3 separate regions of the Homo sapiens genome follow, and regions 1 and 2 are each linked to region 3. The links are contacts of gene promoters, found by promoter capture Hi-C in blood cells and fetal thymus (Javierre and others, 2016). All regions are on one chromosome and are shown on one strand. Each heading gives the region's core, a stretch centred on a gene start or on the middle of the fragment in contact. The rest is flanking DNA. Distances are from core to core; before and after follow the strand shown. Region 1 overlaps LINC02008 (long intergenic non-protein coding RNA 2008). Region 2 overlaps LINC02008 (long intergenic non-protein coding RNA 2008). Region 3 holds the start of GBE1 (1,4-alpha-glucan branching enzyme 1).

Region 1 (3,141 bases), core at 579-3,078, 260 kb after region 3:
TAAGTAGGTAATGCAATTTTGGATTAGTTATTTTTAATCCCTTAGAGTTTTCATTGTAACACATACTTGGTGCGTTATTTGTATGAACTTTCTTGTTATGAGAAGTTTTACTTAGATACCTTGTCAATAAACATTAGACTCAGTCACCTGTTGAAATATGATATATTAAATAAGCCATTAAAATCATTTTTTTGTGTGTGAATTTGTCATTGCAAGAAACTGATTTTTTTACACCTTCAATAAATGTTAAATCATTGTGATCTGCCTGGATTAACTAGATGAGAGGCATTTCTTTGAACTTGAGACTGCGTTTTCCTTTTTCTGTGATTGAACATATACTTTTACATGAAAGGATCAATGCTTTAAAAATTGGTTCATGCAGGGGCGTTCAGTTTTAAGGCACTGGCTCATGGTAACTAATCATGTATTACTCATTTGTAAGTCGGATGGAGATTTGTTTACAGTAGGGATTATATTCCAGTCATAGTAAGAAACCTAATGTCTACTGTGCAGGTCAAAATGTTTCTTATTAACACTACCAGGAAAACTGAACTAGTAAGTTAAATGACTAGTAAGGGTGAAAATAGTGTAAAGATAGTTGAATGGTATTGAGAAATATTTCACCCAGGATGGAGGAAATGCAGGAGATTTATCTATATAATACACATCTGTTTAGTTACTTGAATATTCCTGACAGCCATTTGCTCTTAGACAATGCTGGTTAGCATTGACTCATTTTTAATGTATAAGCTATCTTTTTTTTATGCTCCATGCAAGATCATGGCTTTTCTGACATAAAATAAGGATATCACTTCAGATACACTACAAAAGAGCAGAGTGGTTTATAATTTTCCAGGAAACTGAGGTGTGTTTGATCTCCTTGATTGAATTAAGTACAATGCACTGATTGTTTGGAGAAATTACTGCTATAGATGGCCACATGCATTAATATAGATTGGGTTATTTTTCAAATTTATAATGGTTTTGCTCCTCTTCACCAGAAGTAATTCATGGTAGTCTTATAATGTTGCCTCCCAGGCATTGGTGATTAAGTTGAATTAGACACCTGGCACAACAGGCTCCAACTAGGTTCTCCTTTCATTGGGATTTTGGAGTTGGGAATGAGACAGAAGTGACCCTTTGCTTATGCATAACATTTACCATGTGAAATCTGAAGCTATGTTGTGGCCCTAACATTCCAAACAGATAAAGAATCTGACAGAAGAATAATGAAGCTATGCAAAAAGAAACAACATTGAGAAAAGAAAAAAAAACTTTTAATAGTTTACATTTCCTTTATTCTAGGTAATTTCTGAGGTCCATCTGCAAACCTATTTAGGTACCATAGGACCTCTCTCCCACATTTCTTTAAATCCCTTTTTTTGTTTAAGCAAGCTTGAGTTGTTTCTGTCACTTGTATCTAACATAGCTCACTAAATAATAGTAGAATTCATGAATGAGAGAATCAATATGAGGACACATGTATGTAACATGGTATGTGCTCAATATATTTTAATTACACCTGATATTGAAATGTTATGATTTTTAAACTTTCATTTTCAGAGGGTAACCTTTATCTGACTTTGTCCTCAAATTCTGGGATTCCTTTGGAGTGCCCCCTCAAGCTCTTTCTGCAACCATATTTAAGATTAACTTCAAATCTAAGGTTACATAAAATCATTTGCCTTATTTAACAAGGCAAAATATTGAGACATTATCCTCTAAGAAACAAAGTAATAAGTCATAGTTAGAGCTAATGAGTTGCTATTGAATTTGTACAGGCGAATCAAGGACCTTCTCTCATTCAGCTAGAAATGCTGATCTTATGTTAGCTTGCCATTGATATCTTAATCTTATTGACAAAAATGTAAAAGTGTGAAGCATAGTGTGACTTCTGTGTTGAATCTACTGAATGAGTAAAATCTGAAAGGAGTGGACATTGTTAACTGGGAGTAATGTTTAATTTTTTTACCTCTACAAATTGCTACTTTAACATTTTAAAATTTGTATAAAGCCTTATTTATTTTTTGATTTGTATCTTTATGACCCAATCCTCTTAGGAATTTTTGTGTGTGTGTGCAGTATATTTACTGTGTAATTTTATTGTTTCAAATGTATAGTGACTGGAGAGGATGATAGGTTTGGACTTGTTTGATCAATTCCTTCAGGTACTAGTTCCCTTTAATTGCAGTATTGATTGCTGCAGGTATAACGGGACTTGTGACTTCATAAGACACACCATGTCAGCCTTCAGAGGAAGTAGAAGCTTTGGAAGCAAGTGGTTCAGGTTACTATTTATCTCATGACCCTATGAAAGTCGACATGTGTCATCAAAAGTGACATGCCAAAGATTCAGATTTCTTTGGCATAGCTTCTGAAAGTTAAGACAATTCTCTGAATCTTTATAGTCTTGAAATCTCTCCATGTAGTTTTTCCCTTGAGAATGTTAGTATTTCTTTAGTTCATCAAGGTCCGATGAAAAGCAGTTTTTTGTCTTCTCTAGTTCCTGGTTGGCCTTTTTGTTTCAGATAACAACCAGTAGAAGAAGAGTTTTGAAATCCTGGGATCTCATAATTTAGTAATGGAAATAAGCCATAGATACAAATAGTGTCAACCCAAGATGGTCTGTAGTGGACTAGCTGAGACTGAGGCAACAGGGAAGCGTAACTGTGGAAAGTGAATATGAAGCTGCTGAAGCTGACTCAGCCACTTTTTAGCTTCTTCTGTGTTGGTGACCTTGAGCAATAAATACGATCTATGTCACTTTCAGTTTTCTCATCTGAAAAATAAGAATAAGAATGATATTCTTACAGTATAATATTACCCCTATAATATTATATAATATGGTATAATTAGGGAAGATGCCAAGAAAGAAAACCTAACTGAAGGGATACGTAGGGTTTCAAAGCCTGAGGTGGTAGAAAATGCTTCTTAAGTGGTGGAGATCAGAGGTGTGAAATTTTAAGGTATGACCACAGAGAAGCTAGAAAACTAGTTTGACAGGTGACTAATACTTATGTGTGCCAGAGTTTGTTAAACTTTTCGGCTGGAAGACCCCTAAGGCCATGGGGAAATGACTGATCCTAGGGAAGGAAACACCACCACCGTCACCTCTACCATTGCCACAATAATAACACATTT
Region 2 (2,914 bases), core at 245-2,744, 340 kb after region 3:
TCACATCTCTCATCAGGTATTATTCTAAAGTGTTTGATGAGAAGAGTGTTATGCTGGGGAAAATAAATGCAAAAAAAACACCATCCTGTGAGAATTAATTTGCTTTGATTTCATTTGCAAATTTCTAGACATATTCAGCAATATTCCTTAGTGAAGCCCACTTGTGAGTTTGCTAGAAGGATAAATGGATGAATTCACCTTTCAGGATTACTTTGTTGGCATCCTTCAAACATGAAAAACTATTAGAATTCATTATAGTGCTTTTACCCCTCCCCCACCCCACCTTTATATTTTAGCCCTAATTATCTCTTTGAGCAAGAGTATGTTTTCAGATATTTCAGTTATAATAGATTCATCCTCATCTACACACCAATATCATCATTCTTTCCTTTCATCATATAATTTGGGAGGAGGTTCTTTCTTCACTATACTAAACTGGAAATCTGAAGTGCCTTTTTGTGAATTGTCTCTCTTCCTTTTATGAACTTTTCAAAAATATTTCCCCCATGATTTTGAAGTAAAACAAAACAAAACAACAAAACCTTTTAGTTTGTTGTAAAGCTTGAAAGACCTATAATATCTGACCTGTCCAAATCAGGCATGCTATTTCTTTTCCATCCTAACAAACAAGAGCATATTAATCATGTAGTAAACTAATAAAGATGATTGCCTGATTAACTCCATGCCCAGAATTAATTACAACAGAAGCAGTTGTTCTTACAACTTAAATTAGAGCTTGTAGATGATATGGGTAGTCAATAAATCACTCTGCTTCTGATATGGTGTTCAAAAACTTGTATTAGACAATCTGATTCACAGCCATAACAGTTCTGTTATCCAGTGGTGATGAGATCCAGACTTATTACTTACATATTAGTCTATAATTATACTAGCCATTTTTTATCAAAGTTGAAATAAGTCAATCAGCATTATAGATTGATATTTTACCTCCTGTGGGCAAACTAGCTATATCATTAATTCTGATTGGGTTTTGTTGCTCATTGTTTTATTAAAGCCTAGGATTGTTAGTGTGTCAAACTGAATAATGCAGTACTGAAGTATTTTATAAGAGGCATCATAAAATAACAGGTACCAATCATCAGGCATAATTATTTTGCTATGTTTCCATAACTTTGCTTATTCTTATTTTCTCTTCTGGTAGATTATCTTCTACATCCTTTTTCATAAAGATGTTCCTTAGTTTAAAAGAAAGGAAATATTTTTATTGCTTTTCTGGACATTTATCATTGCATTTCCTTGTGGAAAAAGTGAAAAAAACAAACAAACAATTTCTCACTAGTTTTATTTACAAACTTTTTTTTCCAGTTTATTGTGATTGATTTTGTGCTGCCGTGCTACTTTTATAACCGTCCTCAAGGTCAAAAACAACTACCTATTTTCCATCAAACCTATCTCCAACAACCTACAATCAAAGTATTTTGCTTGATATTTTTTATTACAAGTTCTCTTTTTGTGTTTGTATGTCATTTTTAAATGCTTATTGATCTATGTGCCATTAGGTTATTAGGTTATTGTGGTGTGATATAACCATTGTGGGTTTTGGTAGTGCCTATCTTATTAGATGATTTTTTTTTTCCTATTTAAACCTTTTAAAGCTGAAAAAAATATTTTCTAACAATTTGGCAATGACTAAAATTCAAAAGGAAATTACACAATTAGTACTTTGTGTGCATAATTATGTTTAATATGTATTTTTTAAGTTTTTTATTTACTGATTTGGAAGATGTTATAGCAGAGGTAATAAATATTTAAGAATTTATGGATATTAGTGCAATTTGTTGTGAATTTTAATGTTCTGCACTTAGTAATATACTTTATTTTTTAACCTTTTAAAAAAAATCCCTCACAGTACATATATATAGTTAGATAGAAGAAATAAATTCAATGTTTGATAGCAGAATAGGATGACTATACTTAACAAAAATATATTATACTCAGGTAATAGACTCGCTAAATACCCAGACTTGATCACTATGCATTATATACATGTAACAAAATTACTCATGTACCCCATAAATTTGTATACATAATAATTTTTAAAAATTCCATTTGGCTTGGCTTGGTGGCTCATGCCTGTAATCCCATCAGTTTGGGAGGCTGAGGCAGGCAGATCACTTGAGGTCGGGAGTTCGAGACCAGCTTGGACAACCCAGTGAAACCCTTGTCTCTACTAAAAATACAAAAATTAGCCAGGAGTGGCGGTGCACACCTGTAATCCCAACTACTCGGGAGGCTGAAGCAGGAGAATCGCTTGAATCTGGGAGATGGAGGTTGCAGTGAGCCAAGTTCATGCCACTGCACTCCAGCCTGAGTGACAGAGCGAGACTCTGTCTCAAAAAGAAAGAAAAAAATGAAAAATAATAAATAAATAAAAATAAAAATTTCATTCAAAGATGTTTTAAGGTTGTAAGCTTAACGTTTTAATATATTAATGATTTTCAGAGATTTTCTCTTGAGAGAGGATTAGGTAACTAGGACTAAATCCCCATCAAGAATAATTAGAAAATTGGGCAAAATATATATTAAAACAACTTATTGGAAGGCGCATTAGTTACATCTTGCTGTACAGAAAACTAACCAAAACTTAATGGCTTAAAATGGTATCAGTATATTTAATTCACAATTCTGTGGGGTTAGAATTTAGGGTATCACGCTGGTATGAGCTATGTTTGGTTGATCATGGCTGAACTCACAGACCTGTCAGTTCATGGGTTGGCTGGAGCTGCTTGGCTGATGTCTGGGATGTCTGGGATGACTGGAATTCCTCTGGACAGGGTTTTTCATGCTCCAGCAGGCTAGCCTGAACTTGTTCCTAAATTGATGGCTTTATTTCCTCGATGTATACTAACGACATAATCCTACTCTTGCAGACTGAAGCACACAACTGAAATCT
Region 3 (2,893 bases), core at 143-2,642:
CCTAGAGCAGTGTTTTATTTATAGGAGTTCCTCAATAAACACTTGCTGATTTGAATGCATTTAATACCTGAAAATGCTAGGACACAAACAATTTGCTGGGCTTTTTTCAAACTCCAAATCAACCCATTTTCATTACTCTCAACGCTCCTTCATGCCAGTTAACTAGTTGGATGTTTTCCATCACTCGAAAAATTGGCCATGTATATTCTGTTGCCAGGATAGTTTCCATTCTGCAGTGTCTCTCCTAAAAGGGGAGAAACTATTAAATCAAAATGGGGTAACCTCACAAGTATAACTATTACAACTTGTATAATAGCTCTTTTACTTCAAACAACAACGACAACAGAAAAAGACCTGTACCTTTTTAGTGGAACTTATGAATAGAATTATTAGCCCAGTAACTAAAGTTGTATGGTACACAATGGTAGAAGACAAGCTAAAACGACATTGGCCTGTAAAAGTTGCTTTCCTGACCTTTCTCCCTCTTCAAGATGGTTAAAGTCACACACGGACAAATGTTGATGTACATTTAACTTCTCAATGTTGATCCAAGGGGAGAAAAAATTGATCAATGTAGGTGTAATCTTCCCCTAAATGAGGAATATTAGCAAGGAAAAAACAAAAGGATATAGTGTCTGCCTGAAGGAATCCTCTTAGATATAAAATCACAACATTTGCTATGAAATAAACTAGAAAGTTTTAAATGCGTAATTACACGTGCCAGGAGTTATGCCCACGTTACTCCACAGGCCCACGCTAGTGGGTGCCAAAGTCAGAAAACCTGCAGCGGCGGTGAGTCACTCCCCAGCAGCACTCTGGGGAATAAGTGTTGGAGCCACAGCACGTACCCTATGGCGCAAGACCGCTGATTAGAACAGAGGGGAAAGGGGATGAGGAAAGAAGTTTCTTCAGCGCCCGCTCCGGGCACCAGCGCTGTCAAACCTGCCACTACGGAAGCCACAGAACCCGGTTACCCGAGTCACCCCGAGCCCCGCCCACTCAGGTTCCTCCCCGCCTGGGGCGGGGTTGGCGCGCGAGGGCCGAGGGGCGGCCCGTGTCCCGAGACGGCTCCTGGGAGGCGGGCTGCCTGTCTAAGTGGGGGTGGTGGGATTCCGGCGGTACCTGCGCTGGAAGTCCACGGCGTAGGGCTTCAAGTACGGGTCGATCTCCAGGAGTCTGGCCAGTTCGGGCACGTCAGCCAGGGCGGCATTGAGCGCCGCCTCGTAGTCCTCGGGCCGAGCCGCGGGAGTCATCGGAGCCGCCATATTCCGCCGCAGTCCAAGTAGCCGAGGCCCGAGAGGTCGAGTGGGGCCTGAGCGGGCGCTGGAGCTCTAGCTGGGACGCGGCGGCTAGGGCGGAGCCGGAGGGCGCCTAGGCGTGTCGAGGCAAGCCGAGGCGAGCCGCGGCGGTCCGGGGCCCTTTATAGCCGGGACGGAAGGCCTCCTGCCCTTTCTCCCCCCGCCAGCGGGGAGGAGCGGATCCCGGGGTGATGCCGGGACGCACGTCCGGAGCGGGTAGGAGGCACCGAGGCCTCTCCGCCCACTCACGCGGCTGGCACCTGGAGGCCGCAGGGACCTGCCCTTTCCTCCCCTTAACGGTTTTTTCCTGCTGGCGGAGGTCATTCTAGGAGGTGGGTCCCAAGCTGACCTCGCTCAGCCTTGGCCTTCCTCACCCTGACATATTCTTGGCTTTTCTTTACCCACTTAAGCACCCACTGACAGCGACCCCTTCAAATTGGACATAAGGGGTTTTTTTGGAAAGGACCGTATTTCTCAAAGTTCTGAGACTTTTGAGGGGCAGTATTTCAAACATATCATGTAAATTCACAGAGAGGGGAACAGTCAAGTGTAGCTAGAGTACTACTGCTGAAAATGTTAATACCTCTTACAACCAGGACTCTCCTAAGTTTGCCAGGTCACGTGAATTTAAAATTAACCAAGACACAGAATCCTGGAATACCGTTGGAATTCTGCTGTTCTGGTACTCTTTTCTGCATTACCAACAGCTAAGAATTTTAGCCATGGGAAGAACTTTTCTCATTCTCCGTAAGGCCAAAAAGGAAAAGGCATTTGCCTGTGTTTATAATTGTTAACAAGCTTTTCAACGATTAAACTACCTTTGATAACACAAATGATATCATTGAATTGGAACTCCACTCTGCCACTTACAGTGATAAGGCAAGAAACCTCTCTTCCTCTTGGCTTGGGAAGCTCCCACTTGGAATTCCCTTCTTTTATTGCCATTAACTGACTAGCTTCTATTTCAATAATTGCTTTTTAGGAATACAGAGTTGGACTCCAAGAGAGATGGACCCACCAAACCCAGGAGGGTCCAAGCTGCTTTACACCTAGAAACTAGAGAGGATTGAGGATATTTTTCTTGTTAAAACCCAGAACTGGAGGATCCTAGGGGTTATGGAGGAGAAACAGTATTAATCAGCCGTGGGCCTTGAATTTTAAAATATTTCAAAGGAAAGTTTTTATAAGGGGTTTCATAGACTTGAAAGATAAGTGGATATGAAGACAGACCTCAGTGTGAAAAAGTGAAGGACTTGAACGACTTTAAGACGTGCCTTGTTTTCCATAAAGATGACAAAAAACTGCTGCAGACATTTGTAAAATATAAAGCACTAAAAAAGGAAGAAAATTAAAAAAAAATAAAAACCCGAAGCAGGACAACTATTAATAACAGACCCACAGATCTACATCTCCAAGCCTAAACTTTTTTCAGAAACCCAGGCTTGTATCACTGCCTGTCTACTGAGATTTCCATTTAGCTGGCTAGGAGACCTAAACAAACTGTCTGCAAAACGTGACCTAGAATCCGTCTTCTCATCCTTCCTGCTGTCACTCTTATGCAGGCCACTGTTTTCCTTCACTTGGACCAGAATGTA

What was found. The method cuts DNA at HindIII sites, captures the fragments that hold promoters and counts their contacts. A CHiCAGO score of 5 or more calls a contact.
Region 1: a fragment that was not itself captured here is called in contact with the fragment with the promoter of GBE1 in region 3 in 5 of 17 cell types (M0 macrophages, monocytes, M1 macrophages and 2 more); the score reaches 8.9 in M0 macrophages.
Region 2: a fragment that was not itself captured here is called in contact with the fragment with the promoter of GBE1 in region 3 in 2 of 17 cell types (M0 macrophages and monocytes); the score reaches 5.6 in M0 macrophages.

What each region holds. Positions count from the first base shown.
Region 1 is chr3:82,020,010-82,023,150 of GRCh38, forward strand. All of the region lies in intron 1 of LINC02008 (long intergenic non-protein coding RNA 2008), which reads left to right. Among named protein-coding and RNA genes, the nearest start is that of LINC02008, 35 kb to the left of the region's middle. The HindIII fragment of the contact is 871 bases long and covers 1,394-2,264 here.
Region 2 is chr3:82,097,805-82,100,718 of GRCh38, forward strand. All of the region lies in intron 1 of LINC02008 (long intergenic non-protein coding RNA 2008), which reads left to right. Among named protein-coding and RNA genes, the nearest start is that of LINC02008, 110 kb to the left of the region's middle. The HindIII fragment of the contact is 1,871 bases long and covers 560-2,430 here.
Region 3 is chr3:81,760,253-81,763,145 of GRCh38, forward strand. GBE1 (1,4-alpha-glucan branching enzyme 1) reads right to left here and starts at 1,393. Exons shown (of 16, transcript NM_000158.4): 1 at 1,123-1,393. The coding sequence starts at 1,265. RefSeq lists enhancers at 672-841, 1,182-1,471, 1,258-1,866 and silencers at 942-1,021, 1,522-1,621. The HindIII fragment of the contact is 5,689 bases long and covers 1-2,094 here.